Linked DNA regions of Homo sapiens: region 2 is linked to region 1. Evidence: promoter capture Hi-C in 16 types of primary human blood cells and fetal thymus (Javierre and others, 2016). All regions are on one chromosome and are shown on one strand. Each heading gives the region's core, a stretch centred on a gene start or on the middle of the fragment in contact. The rest is flanking DNA. Distances are from core to core; before and after follow the strand shown.

Region 1 (7,179 bases), core at 4,027-6,526:
TAGGGAGGAGGAAACAGAGAGTTGAAGGTCACCCAGTTGTCCAGCAATGGAGTCAGGATTGTGGTCCGGGTTGGCACCAGAGTCCATGCTCTCAATCACAGGGCTAGAAGGGTCACCTCTGTGGAATAACTCCTGTTTGGCCATGCCTGGGAGGCAATACAGTCCAGTAGTTCAAGTCCACTTGAGGGGCGTTAACCTGCATCCTACCTGGAGCTCAGGTCATGTTCCTGGAAGGGAGGAAAGCATCTCTCTGCACTATGGACAAAAAGGCACCTCCCCAGGTGCCTGCGGGCATCAGCAACTATACTTCTTCTCCGCAGCCAGAGGGGCAGACGCAGCCTCCACCCCTGCCTCTGCCAGGTAGGGCTGCCAGATAAAATACAGGGCACTCAGTTCCATCTGAATTTCAGAGAAACAACAAATCATATTTTAGTGTAAGCATGTTCCAGCTATGTCATGGACTATACTAAAAAGTTATTTGGTGCTCATTAGAAATTCAAATTTAACTTCGATGTGTGACATTTTTATTTGGTACATCTAGCAACTATGCTGCCAGGAATCATGAAGTTTGCTCAGTTTGACAGCTGTGGTCTGCCCAGGTTCTCCTGCATGCATGCGCGCACACATACACACACACACAGAGAAACAGACACACACACGCACACACACACATGCTCCCTCTCACATCCTCTCACCATCCATAGATTCACTCACTGTGCTTCTTGTCTGATTACAAGGGAATTAAAATGTACTGGGGATGGGGGTACCCCAGGGTCCTTCTGCAGCTAAGAGACCAAATTAACCATGTCTAATTGCAGCTGGGTGGAGAGCCAGCTTTCAGAAACAAGACTCTAAGTTCTTCCCCACCCCCTCTCACTTTCCCATTTTCACGCTTGAAATCCCTCAACTGGGTAAATTCTTCCCGGTTCAAACTTGTTGTAAAGGCGACTCTCATTCCTTTTATAATCTCTCCACAGATCCCATGACAGGTTCTTTCTGCCAGCACAGCTTCTTCTCCCCCAACCCCCGAGTCCTTTCTGCAGAGCATGTTTGAGAGGCGGGGGGCACGGTTTAATCCTAGGGCTGTTTTGTGGGTGGCTGCTCAGAAACCCCATTGAGGCCTTGAAAAGGGGCCTTGGAGATTTAGACTGAATACAGGGCTGAGGAGGAAGTTTTAAGTTGCCATGGAAACTTCTTGTTTGATGTTCGTGGGCCCAGATAAGCTGTTCTAGGCGCCCATGGGCTTGGAGAAAGGGGGCAAAAATGAAACAAAAGCTGTTTGGGGAGGTTATTTTCTGCACACTGCAGCCCAGCCCACTATAGATGCAGGAAAATTCTCCACCTCCCTGTCAGGACTGCCTCCCCTGGTCTTCCCTGTCCCCCTTCCTTTGGGTTCCTCTGGTTCCCAAGAAATCAGAGTTAAAAGGGGATGGGAGGGAAGACAGGAGGGGTGTGCCCAGCCCCTGGGCTTCCCCCTTTGATGCCCCAGCTCACCAGGGGGCCGAGCAAGTATGCAGATCCCCAGGCCCCTGGCTTCCCAGAGTCCTTCCTTTTGGAAGAATAGGAAGACCTCCAGGGAAAGCCACACAGAAGGAGGCAGGAGACAGCGACTGTGGCTTGAATTATGCAATTACCTGGAGTAAACGCCTCAAAGGCTTGTTTGTTCAGAGGGCCTCTGTTTTCCCATATTCTGATGACATAACTGAGCCAGATGTGATTCCTAACTAACTACAGTTGTTTGGGAAATGTTGCTCTTTCTCACATTTTTAATTCTTAGAGTCTTTTTCTGATAACAAAAGTAATATATGCTAGGGCCTTTTTTTTTCTTTTAACACCGCAAACATCACAGAAATGCAGTGACAAAGGAGAAGGGCCTGTAATTTTACGCTGTAGAACAATGGTCCTCAAACTCTTTAATATAAATGAGCCCCCAGAGAGGTATGTTTAAAATCCAGATTCCATGGTGGCTTCATTCCTGTGATCCTAGCACTTTGGGAGGCTGAAGCAGGAGGAACACTTGAGGCCAAGAGTTCAAGACCAGCCTGGGCAACACAGTGAGATCTCATTTCTAAAAAAAATAAAAAATTAGCTGGGTGTGGTGGCATGTGTCTGTAGTCTCAGCTACTTGGGAGACTGAGGTGGGAGGCTCGCTTGATCCCAGGAGGTCAAGGCTGCAGTGAGCCATTATGGCACCACTGCATTCAGCCTAGGTAACAGAGTAATGCTCTGTCTCAAAAAAAAAAAAAAAAAAAAAATCCAGATTCCTAGGTTCCTCCCTAGGAAAAAAAAAAAGCAAGAGCATTTTTAGCACTCATTTCAAATGACATCTAGTAATAGTATTTGAGATACACTGATCTAGAGTTGACCTCTGCTAACAGATTAGTGTATTTGCCTCCACACTAGTTCTTTATACATATACCAACTTTTTTATCTTGAAAAAAAAAAGAGATCCTACTACATATGATTTTTCATTGAATATGTAGAAGACATCTTTTTCAGGTCAATACATAGACATGTTTATTGGCTGCATCTCGTCTTGGGGTGTAGCATAGTCTCTTGCTGATGGAGTGTGGCCTGGGAAAGGGTGGTGGTTGGCCGCTGATCTCACGTACAGTTGCACCTGCACATGGACACACAGCAAGATGGTGCTGTAACAAGCTCAGCGCTGTCAAGGTTTTCGGTGTCTTCAGGTTAACAATAGTTATTGAGCCCCTCAGTACTGGGACAGGAAGATAGGTAGGTACCTGCCCTGGGGCTAGCAGTCTGATGGGTTTGTATACAAGTTGGACTGTGAGAAGAGTTTTTGTGGGAGAAGCACAGTGACTCCCAACTGCCCACGGAAAATGACGCCCAACATCCGAGGACTACTGCCCAGTTCTCCTTGGCTGTCAGGTGCGTGTTCCTCTGAAGTGTACCAGGTGATGGGCTTCTGTCTTCTCCGGGGATGAGCAGGAGCTGTCAGAAGTTCCCCCGCTCCAGGATCCTTCTTACTCTCCAACTGTTAGAAGGCACTGGGATTGGTTCATCTGAGCCACCAAAGACCCTAGGAAATATTCAAAATACTTCTTTGCAGAGCAGGAGGATGTGTGCAAGGAACCAGGGTCAGCAAAGAGTGGTTTGACAAGAATCTAGCTGTCCTCTTCTACCAGGAGAGTTTGGGGAAGTTAAGGCAGAGCAGGGTGGGAGGCTGAGGGGGCTACCATTCATAGTGCCTCAAGAAATGCAGAATTGGGGAAGAAGAAAAAAAGGGACCACACATTGTTTCCAGAAAATTGTTTTATACCCAAGAATTTAGGACCCTCTTAGTTTAAGTGGCTCGAGAATGGTCAGCGTGGCCAAGACTCCCTGGACATGCCTGCCCTGTCCCTCCCACTCCACCCCTGTCTCCCACCTCCCTCACTCCCAAGATGGCACCCAGCCTGCCTTTACATCACACCAGGATCCACCCAGTCTGGGCCTTTCCACTGGCTCTTCCCACCCTACGAAGACTCTCCCATGTGTACAGACTTCACACAACTGACTCCTTGTGATTCTGCTACCCTAAAACACCACCCGCTCTCACCTCACCCAGCCTTGCGTTCATCACGGCATTCCTCACTGCCTGACGTCATCCTGAATGTCCCCTTCTTTACTGTGTGTCCCCCTTGAAGGTAGGTTCCCTGACAGCAGGGATATTACCTGTGTCATTCACATGGTACCCCCAGCACTTAGAACAGTGCCAGGAACACAGTAGGAATTAAATAAATGTTTGTTAAATGAACAAATAATATAGGCCAAAGAAGACACAAGGTTGCCTTGTTAAAGCCTCCATTCACCTGTGATGCATGTCCTAGGCCTCATCACCTTCTAGCCAACCAAGACTCCATGAGAAAGTAAAGTTGGGGTGGAGGCCTGGTCTAACTGGTAGACCCCAGCTTCCTCACTGGGGAACTAGGATGACACTAAACGATAGAAAACACTTCCAGCTTTTCAAGTGAAAGCTGATTCTGAAATTAGGAGAATGCCTCCATTATCTATAAGCATCCAGGCTGGCCTTAAGGATCTACATACATTTTTTACTTTTCTTGGGTTTTTTTGTTTGTTTGTTTTTTGGGTTTTTTTGAGACAGTCTTGCTCTGTCACCCAGGCTGGAGTGCAGTGGCCCAATCTTGGCTCACTGCAAACTCTGCCTCCCAAGTTCAAGCAATTCTCCTGCCTCAGCCTCCCAGGTAGCTGGGATTACAGGTGTGTGCCACCACCCCTGGCTAATTTTTGTATTTTTAGTAGAGACAGGGTTTTACCATGTTGGCCAGGCTGTTCTCAAACTTCTGACCTCAAATGATCTGCCTACCTCAGCCTCCCAAAGTGCTGGGATTACAGGCATGAGCTACCATGCCTGGCCTACTTTTATATTTTACATTCACATGTTCATTCATTGAGCCACTACTTATGGAACACATATTCTGCCAGGCAAAATGCACCATGCTGGGCTCTGGCCTCAGATCACGTAGAGTCCAGGTCTCTCTTGGAGAAAAGTCCTATATGCTGAGCTTTGACTATGTGCTTCACTAATGTCATCTCATCCATGTCATCTCCCAACCACCCTGGTATGCTCCACATTTGACAAACACAGAAACCAAGACACAGAGACACTGAGTGGCTGCTGAAGGGGCTGGTGCTGGAGCCAGGGCCAACACATGAGCCTGCTGAGACCCAGACACGGTGCATCCCCTCTCCCACGCTCTTCCGTTGGCTCCTCTGTGAAGTTCCAATGACATTCAAGGTATCAGGAAAACGCTGTGTACGGAGTTTCTGACCCATTCGTGGATAATTAAGAACTGACCCAATGCTGAGCAGTTTCCCCTCCCTTTACACCCCACCCTTTTCCCCCCAGAGCCATTTTCTCCTGAAGAATCCACACCACTGCCTCAGGAAGCTTGGCTTCCCCTCCCATGGGGAAGTGCTGGAATCCACTCTTGCCTGACCCTCCCATAAGAAACAAGGGAAATTCCTTTACGTGAGCCGCCTTGCTCAGAACAAAGCTTGGCGTGTTTCTTATTCCTCATCAATCTGACAAAATGGGTATTTATTTGTGCCTCTCAAGCGTGTGGCTTGGACATGATGTTCCGCATCGTGGAAGTGGCCGTGCACCAAGTGGAATATCTGTTACTATAGTAACAGTTCCTTTTTATTGATACCAGAATAAACAGGAATGCAAAGGCTGTCTCACTTGTTGGCACATTTCAGCAGCCTCCGTTCCCAGGGGTTTAAGAACCGCCCTCTAGAGGCAGCCCTCCTTGCTAGTCTGGGACTTCCCGGTGGAGTGAGGAACCCAGCAACACGCTCCTGACTTCCCTTCCCAAGGACTCGACCTGAGAAGTAAGACCATCTCTGTTCTGTTTCATCTGCTGTTGAGAGCGGTGCCGTTCGGGAGGAGGTGGAAGGGAAGGAGGGCAGACCCGGTACACTGAAGTGGGCTGTCAGTGGACCTGAGTGCTTTGAGTTTAGGTACCCGGGCTATGTCCCAGCATCCATAAAATGATACGGGAGATGCCTCCAGGCACCCTGGGTTTCGGAAAAGGGTAGGAGACAAAGAAGCGAGCCCCCTGGCATAGCCCTGCATTCTTGTTGATCTTTTTCTGCTGCATCCTCAGGTGAATCTGAATTAATGCATGATATAGCCTCACCTAAGTCAATTATCACACAGTATGGGGGTTTAATTCTCAGCACAACAGACAGAACACAGATTTCAGCTTCAGAGTTTGGCTCAGATTCAAGCTCTTTCCTTCACCGGCTGTGTGATTTGGGGAAATCAGATGACTTCCCTGAACTTCAGTTTCCTTGACTGTAAAAAGAGGATAATAACAGTACCCACCTCTTCAGTCTGTCGTAAGAATTTCATATTTCATGAGATATGGCTGCTAGGTGCTTAGCACAGTGCATGGCACATAGTGCACGCAGGTTAACGTGTGAAGGGCCTGCCTTTCTGGTGAATTTGGCTTTAGGACTTTGCAATACAAGGCAAGTCTGAGATTGGGCCAGAAATCAAGAGCTGTAGGATTGGGTGTGTCACTTTTTGAAACTGCTACCAAACCCAAGTAGCTTTGAGCTTCAAGGCAGCCCCCACGCCTGCATCTCTGGGTGGCTTAGATCCTGAGTGGCCCTCTTAGTTCTGTTGGTGGTGAGTACCTGCTGGAATTTTCCCTGCAGAGGCATCTGCCAGGTAAAGTGGCTGACATCATGCCACTAATGAGCCAGCAGGGATTCCAGGTCTGCTGATGCTTGTTCCAGATCAACTGCACAATGCTGTCCACTAACCTTGCTAAGTATCCTCCATGTCTAGCCCTGGACTCTGCTATTTAATTGGTTCAAAATCCTAAATGTCCACCCAACATTCTCCTTCCGAGGTAGGAAGTTGCAACGGACCTGAGGCAAAATGTTCAGGAAGTCAGCCTTGAGTCATTGCATCCAAATGGACAAGCAGCTCTGCTGGGGGCTTCCGAGCATCGACCAGAAGCTGCTGGGAGATCTGGAGGTGGCTCCGAGATACACTGTTCTTTGGCTGCTGGCCAGTGAAATACAAATAGGCACTTTCCCCATGGAGAGGAAAAAAGCCAGAAGGGTCAGGAAATCCAGTGACCGTGCTTGTCACTTTTACTGAATGCCTGTTTTTCCTTTGCCAGTCGTTATTTTGAAAGCCTCTCTTCTCCTCTGCCCTGGCATCCCATTAAATGCTGAACCAAGAGGGTTCTGAATGTGTTCGGAACCCAGCAGCTTGAACAGTAATGAGGAAGTGGGGGCACAGGAGGGAAGGCCACCAGCTGGTCCTCTCCTAAACAGAGACCAGCCTGAGGCCAGACAGGCCCGTGGACTCTAGCTTAAGCCCAAAGCTGCTAGGGCCAGGCTGGGGCTCCCCAGTGAGAGTTTGCATTTCACGTAGGCTAGGAGTCCTCAAGTTAGCAGGCCTCCATGTTCTTATCTATAAAATGGGCTCACACAGCCTCTTCATTGGGGTTTCTTGACTATCTAGAGAGAGAAAAGGGACATAACCCTGCTTTGTCAACTAAAAGACATTTTGCACCTTGAAGACAGTGGAGAGGTAGAAAGAGCATTGAATTTGGCGTCCAAGGTCCTGGCTTTGCTGCTTACTCTCTGTGTATCGAGACAAGTAGCTTGGCCTCTCTGAGCCTTAGTTTTCTC
Region 2 (7,318 bases), core at 620-3,119, 270 kb after region 1:
GAGGGGCTGCAGTGGGAAGGGAAACTTTAGTGTAACCCCCATGAGGATGGGGCCTTGTCTGTGTTTCTCACCACTGCATCCCAGTTCCTGGTACCCAATGGTGACCCAACATCTATTTACTGAAGGCATTTGTTCATAAATGGATGTGCTGGTTTTGCTTGGGTTGGGGGGCAAAGGGTTGCCTTGCACAGGACAGTTGAGTCAGCGGGGATCTCCTTCCTCAATTATTTTCTCAAAATCCCACTGTGTTGTTTCCAGAAGCTTCAGTCCTCAACCTTGGCCATGCTCTCCAGTTCTGTGGTTCCTACTTTCTTCTTCCTTCAGAGGAGACAGGGCTTGTTCCAGATGTGGGAAGAGGTGGAGAAAGCAAACACAGACCCCACAGACCCAAGTATTATCTTTCTCAAAAAAGCTTGATTTCAGAAGCTGCCAGAACTTGCTTCAAATGCATCCTCTGCCACTTACCTACCTCCCTCATCTGTCACATGGAGAGATTATTAGCATCTACCTCACAGAGTTGAGGGAAAAAGAGTTGATGGTATAAAGTGTCTGGCACCCCAGGAAACCCTCAGTAATGGGAGAGGGTTCCTGTAAGCCAGCTGCCTGGCAAATGTATCCTGCCAGGTGGCCCAGGAAAACCAGAGCAATTCCTGTATTTTGAACTTCAAGGAACAATAGATAATTTTCACCCTGCTGCAACAAACCCTGAAAATGAAGTGTCTTCCCAGTTGCCTGAATTCTCTCATGCTGTCTTATTAATTCAGAGCGGAGGATAAAAGAGATGCCTTTGAATGATAAAGACAAAAAACTTGTTTTTTGGCTGGGTGTTGTGGCTCAGGCCTGTAATCCAGCACTTTAGGAGGCCGAGGTGGGCAGAACACCTGAGGTCAGGAGTTCAAGACCAGCCTGGCCAACATGGCGAAACCCTGTCTCTACTAAAAATACAAAAATTAGCTGGGTGTGATGGTGCGCACCTGTAATCCCAGCTACTCGGGAGGCTGAGGCAGGAGAATTGCTTGAACCCAGGAGGCAGAGGTTGCAGTAAGCTGAGATCACGCCACTGCACTCTAGCCGAGATGACAGAGCGAGACTCTGCCAACAAACAAAACAAAACAAAAAACAAAAAAAAACTTTTGTTTTTCAACTAAATTTTATATTAAAAAATCGTTTTTGGACAGTGTCTCACTGTCACCCAGACTGTAGTACAATAATGTGATCATGGGTCACTGTAGCCTCAACCTCCCAGGCTCAACCGATCCTCCCACCCCAGCCTCCCAAGTAGCTGGGACTACAGGTGCATGCCACCATGGCCAGCTAATTTTTAATTTTTTTGTAGAAACAGGGTCTCACCATGTTGCTCAGGCTGGTCTTGAACTCCTAGGCTCAAGCGATCCTTCTGCGTTGGCCTCCCAAAATGCTGGGATTACAGGTGTGAGGCACTGCACCATGCCTAAATTTTATCTTCTGAATAGGTACTGTAGGCTTACAGCATACATTTCAAATGACATAAAGGGATAGATATTAAAAAGTGAGTCTCCCTTCCACCTCTTCCCCTGTCAGCCTCTCCCCTCTCCAGGAGCAACAACTAGTATGAGTTTCTTAAGTGTCCCCTGAAAAATATGATATGGGGGCTTTTACCTCTTGACGATGTATCTAAAATTGCTCCAAATCAAAACACACAAGGCTGCCTCAGTCTTTTTTTCTTTTTTTTTTTGGAGACAGGGTCTTACTCTGTGGTCCAGGCTGGAGTACAGTGGTGCAAACATAGGTCACTGCAGCCTCAAACTCCTGGGCTCAAGTGATCCTCCTGCCTCAGCCTCCAGAGGAGCTGGGACTACAGGCATGTGTCACCACACCTGGCTAATTTTTTTGATTTTTATTTTTAGAGAGGGGATCTTGCTATGTTGCCCAGGTTAGCTGCCTCAGTCTTTATGAAAGTTACCCTGTACTGCATTGGGTGGAGCCAGTTAGTTCTTAAGAGGACCATTTCAGGTACCCTCTGTGTTTCAGAGCAAAGTTGTTGGGGTCGGTCTCTATTTTATGTCCCTGAAAGGTACGGCAGCCAAGAATGAGTTAAGTCCACACTTCCCCTCTGCTGTGTGGCTCCCCTCCCTGCCTTACTTATTGGTGCCAAATGGATTTTTCTAAAGCTGAGGAGCTTTCTCAACTTGGGGAAGAAAAGGCAAGAGAGAAGGGTCCAAGTGAGATTCCAGTCCCCCTGTTCTCCATTGATTTAATGGAAAACACCCCCTATGTCAGCAGATTGTGGAGATAGGACAAAGGAAGTGAAAATGATCAGAAGTTAAAACCTATGGAACTGTAGCCATTGTTTCTGTTTCGAGAATAAGATCACATAGTTTAGGGAGATTTGCCAAGTACCAGCTAACTTGCTCACATTATTCCATCAACCATGCAATGTCACTATAATTACCACTTTTCACAGATGAAGAAAATGAAGCTAAGTCATTTATCTAAGGTGGTGAGAGGCTCCAGAGCCTAAAAAGCTGCATTCCATCCCTCCCATGTGGAAGACCAGTCTGGGAGCTGCTCCTTTGAGGCAACTCAAGTGTCATCAACTCAAGCGTCATCTCCAAACAAGAAACTCTGAAAAGCAGGCAGTGCTTTAGAATCCCTAGAAGCCAAGCCTGAGAGAGAGACCCTCACGGAAGTGATTTACTGGGAGATGGCCCCCAAGTGAAATCTGTAAGGGAGGAGGGAAGCAAGATAGGGCAGGAGAAGAAGCCAAGCAAAGATGTGGATTTGAAACCGGTCCAATCATCCCACAGAACTGATGCTTACGGTTTCTTTTGAGTATATGTAGAGATTGACCTTCTCATCTTAAAATTTGAGAAGTTACATTTGTCTTATCTGAGTTCCTTTCTCAGTAAACCAACCATGAGGCTTCCCAGGTAGTATCAAGGAGCTGAAACTCACCAGATCACTGCATTTGGACAATGACAGTCCAGACCCTTCACCCTTCATGACTGCCTGTCTCCCACGACCTGCTTTCTGTTGACCAACTCCCCTTCCTTATCCTTCCCTGATTCCTGTTTTCCTGCATTTGTTATATTTCTGCTGTATAAACTCCTAATTTTAGTCAGTCAGGGAGATGGATTTGAGACTGATCTCCCATGTCCACAGCAGCAGCTCTCAAAGAAAGCCTTCTTCCCTGGCAATATTCATTGTTTCAGTGATTAGCTTTCTCTTTGGTGAGCAGCAGGACCTAGAAGCAACACTTGGTGTTTCAGTAACAGATTCAGCTGAGTCTAGCCTCAGCTGGATCCCATGGGGAGTCCTGGAGCATAAATGATACTAAGGAAGCTTCTAGGCTTTGAGGCAAGGGGGCCAAGCCTTCTATAGGTGTCATTGGCTGCTACCTATAGGGTTGCCAGATTTAGCAAATAAAAATATAGGATAGGCCAGGCACGGCGGCTCATGTCTGTAATCACAGTGCTTTTGGAGGCTGAGGCAGGAGGATTGCTTGAACCCAGGAGTTCTTACCCGTATGTATGTGTGCAAATGCACAGAAATCCCAGTGGACTGACTGATGGGGGAAGGGTGGGGCTGTGCAGAGGGTGTAAGAGACTTTCATTTTTTCAGCAATCTTTTTGTTTGATTTTTTTTTTTGAGACAGAGTTTTGTTCTTGTTGCCCAGGCTGGAGTGCAATGGCACAATCTCAGCTCACTGCAACTTCTGTCTCCCAGGTTCAAGCTATTCTCCTGCCTCAGCCTCCCAAGTAACTGGGATTACAGGCATGCACCATCACACGGGGCTAATTTGTTTTTTGTTTTTCGTTTTGTTTTGTTTTGTTTGAGTCGGAGTTTCGCTCTTGTTGCCCAGACTGGAGTGCAATGGCCCGATCTCTGCTCACCTCCACCTCCACCTCCTGGGTTCAAGCAATTCTCCTGCCTCAGCCTCCAGAGTAGCTGGGATTACAGGCATGCGCCACCACGCCTGGCTAATTTTGCATTTTTAGTAGAGACAGGGTTTCTCCATGTTGGTCAGGCTGGTCTTTAACTCCCAACCTCAGATGACCTGCCTGCCTCGGCCTCCCAAAGTGCTGGGATTACAGGAGTGAGCCACTGCGCCTGGCCTAATTTTGCATTTTTAGTAGAGACAGGGTTTCTCCATGTTGGTCAGGCTGGTCTTTAACTCCCGACCTCAGATGATCTGCCTGCCTCGGCCTCCCAAAGTGCTGGGATCAGGTGTGAGCCACCGTGCCCGGCTGTTTGATTTCTTTTAAAGTGACAGCATCATTTTGGTAACACTAATAATTATTAAATAAAAAATCAGGACCTGCTACTTACGTAGTTAGGCACAAGAGGGAGCTGTGGACCACACCTATCTTGTTTGTTTTTTCTCTGCAAAAACAAGCAAAAATACAGAATTCCCAGTTAAATTTGAGTTTCAGATAAACAATGAGTGGGACATCTTTATACTAAAAATGTATTTGTTGTTTATCTGAAATTAACATTTAACTGGGCATCCTGTATTTTATCTGGCAACACTTGGACATAAGAGGAGAAAAGGTATAGCTTCGCAGGCACCTCCAGTCATCTGAGGGTGGCTCAACTGGGCAGCCAACCCAGCAGGTGGGGGGTGGATGCAGCAGTCAGTAAAGGGGACCTGGGAAGGACATAAGCACACCCGTTTCGGGCAGGAACTCTGGGGGCAGTGCACCAGACAATGGTAAAAAAGACTAAAAGCCCTTTCCTAGACCATCAAAACCACCCCCATCACCCAGGGAACAGCAAGACAGCCTGGTCCCCTGCCCCAGCACCCACCCCTCTGCCAGCAGCTACTGGAGGACATCTTTTCTCCTTCAGTCATTCCCCTGCTTGTCTGGGGGTTATAGCTGGAGCCATGCTGTTTAACTTTGTCTCACCCAGCATTTCTGAACTGTATTTAAATGACGGAGGAAACTTTCCTTGGAAGTGATCTTAGAAATCTCCCTCCTAAAAAAATGGCTCCAGGGCCCCAGGAAGGGAGATTTTGGGGAGGGGATAACGACCCTGTAATAAAGCAGCCCGTTTCTGGAGGGGCCTTAAATCCTTTCTTCAAATTCAGAGACCTTCTCCTGGGGGTTCAAAGAGGTCCTTACAAAGAGATTTGTACCCCGTTTTCTCTGGAGGACTCTGCATCCCTGTTATAGGAACCTGAGGGCTCTGTGGGTTTGGACCTAGAAGAGCTCCAGGGAAAAGAGCAGGAGGAGTGGGCAACAGTAATGTCTAGCATAGCCCCAATTGTGTTATAAAAAAAAAATCCACAAAGCCAACCAGTTTTACACTGCTTACCCGTATGTATGTGTGCAAATGCACAGAAACCCCAATGGACTGACTGATGGGGGAAGGGTGGGGCTGTGCAGAGGGTGTAGGAGACTCTCCTTTTTTAAGCAATCTTTTTGTTTGATTTCTTTTAAAGTGACAGAGCATCATTTTGGTAACACTAATAATTATTAAATAAAAATCAGGACCTGCTACTTACATAGTTAGGCACAAGAGGGATCTATGGACCTATCTATATGCTGCGCCTTCCATGCTGGAAGAAAAAAATGCCTCCTCAGCCCACCCCCAAGGCAGGAGAGCCGGACCTAGAAAGCAGGCTCCCATCCCTTATCTGAAATCCTAAAAAAAAAAAACAACTGGAAACCAAGTATCTTCATCCAGCGCCAATGCTTAATCTGAACTAAGGTGAGGCTTACAGCTTTTGTCCCACTTACTGTGGCTACACATACATTGCATGGCAGAAATACAAATGCATTTATTTGACCATGTGTGGTGGCCCCAGACCCTGCAGAGGGCATCACATGATACATGGTATACACACTGTGATACCTTTCCAGGTCGAAACGCTTCTGAATTCAAATCACGTCTGGCCTGAGAGCTTTGGGGAGGGGTTGTCTTGGCAGCCACCTTTCCAGTTGTCCTTCAGGAAGTCACCTGCCCCCGACCCAGCCAGCTTTGGCCTTTGGTCATTGGAATTGTTACCCCCTTACTGCCCCTACGAACTCTTCCTTCTTCCACCCCCTGCTGCAGCTCCTGGTATGGCCTCAGATGCCTGTTCATTGCCTTGAGGATTTAAAGACCCTAAGATCCAGAAACCAATGAAGGGAAGGTTCCTCCAGGAGCCAAGAGAGAGGGACTGTCCTGTTGCTGAAAGGAGACCCGAGCAGTCACCTGTCCTCTCCCTCTGTCCCTCTGCCAGACTAGGCTGATGATGGTCACAAGACTCTCCTCCCACTGCCAGCACAGGCAACCCCAAGTCCACACCCTGGTTGGTACCAGCCCCAGGGAGCAAATACTGGGCCCCAGAGCCCTGCGGCAGCTGGGGACACCAGAAGAGCCAGCCCCAGGACTGTCACCTGGCAGGTAATTTGAGGATATCTCCACTGCCCTATCTGTGACCAGCCCCGTCCCTCTAAAAAAAACCCTCTACTTTTTTGTCTCCTTTCAGGAAATGGAGAAATTGCAAGAACAGCACCCAGTTTGGGGTTGGGGAGGGAGAAAAGGCTGATGAGAAGGTCCAGTCTGTGGTTGAAGGGTGATGCTGGAAGAGCTGAAAGGTGATGGCTCCTCCAAAGCAGAAGGCTGGGGCCTGCACGTGTTAAAATCTGCAGCCACCATTTTAGAACGGTGGTAGTTACCTAAGCAACCCATGGTCCTAAGAACAATATCCAGGGCTTGGAAAGTAAATAAGGGGGCCTACATTCAGCATTTATTATAAATATTAGACCCAAAATGTGTTTGAAGGCAGGTATAGCCCCTGGCCAGTAAGCAATCCCTTTAAAAGATGCCTGGGCAGACCCCAGCAGAGCTTCAGGGCTGGCTTCTGAAGCAGCAGCTAGGAGCAGTCACATTTGTTTTTCTTTTTTTTTTTTTTTTTTTTTTGAGACAGAGTCTTGCTGTGCTGCCCAGGCTGGAGTGCAGTGGCGCAATCTTGGCTCACTGCAACCTCCACCTCCCGGGTTCAAGCAATTCTTGTGCCTCAGCCTCCTGAGTAGTTGGGACTACAGGTGTGCACCAACATGCCTGGCAAACTTTTTGTATTTTTAGTAAAGAAGGGGTTTTGCCATGTTGGCCAGACTGGTCTTAAACTCCTGACTGCAGGTGATCCAGCCGCCTCAGCCTCCCAAAATTCTGGGATTACAGGCGTGAGCCACTGCACCTGGCCAGGCCACATCTCTTGACTGCTTTCCATGCCAGACCCCAGAGAGGCAATGAGACTGAGCCGAGACTTCTCCCAAAGGAGAATATTGTTGGGAACAAACAACACTCATATCCAGAGTATGGGGGCAGGGAGAGGATATCAGCAAGGTGA

Evidence for each region. Contacts are between HindIII fragments. The CHiCAGO score rates a contact against its expected background, and 5 or more counts as called.
Region 2: a fragment that was not itself captured here is called in contact with the fragment with the promoter of FAM107A in region 1 in 1 of 17 cell types (naive B cells); the score reaches 5.3 in naive B cells.

The regions. Positions count from the first base shown.
Region 1 is chr3:58,575,488-58,582,666 of GRCh38, reverse strand. FAM107A (family with sequence similarity 107 member A) reads left to right here and starts at 5,276. Exons shown (of 4, transcript NM_001076778.3): 1 at 5,276-5,358. It overlaps LOC107984079 (a long non-coding RNA gene), which reads right to left. Exons shown (of 3, transcript XR_001740724.2): 3 at 2,492-3,043. The HindIII fragment of the contact is 9,093 bases long and covers 5,024-7,179 here.
Region 2 is chr3:58,297,311-58,304,628 of GRCh38, reverse strand. No RefSeq gene overlaps it. Among named protein-coding and RNA genes, the nearest start is that of RPP14, 5.3 kb to the left of the region's middle. The HindIII fragment of the contact is 2,909 bases long and covers 415-3,323 here.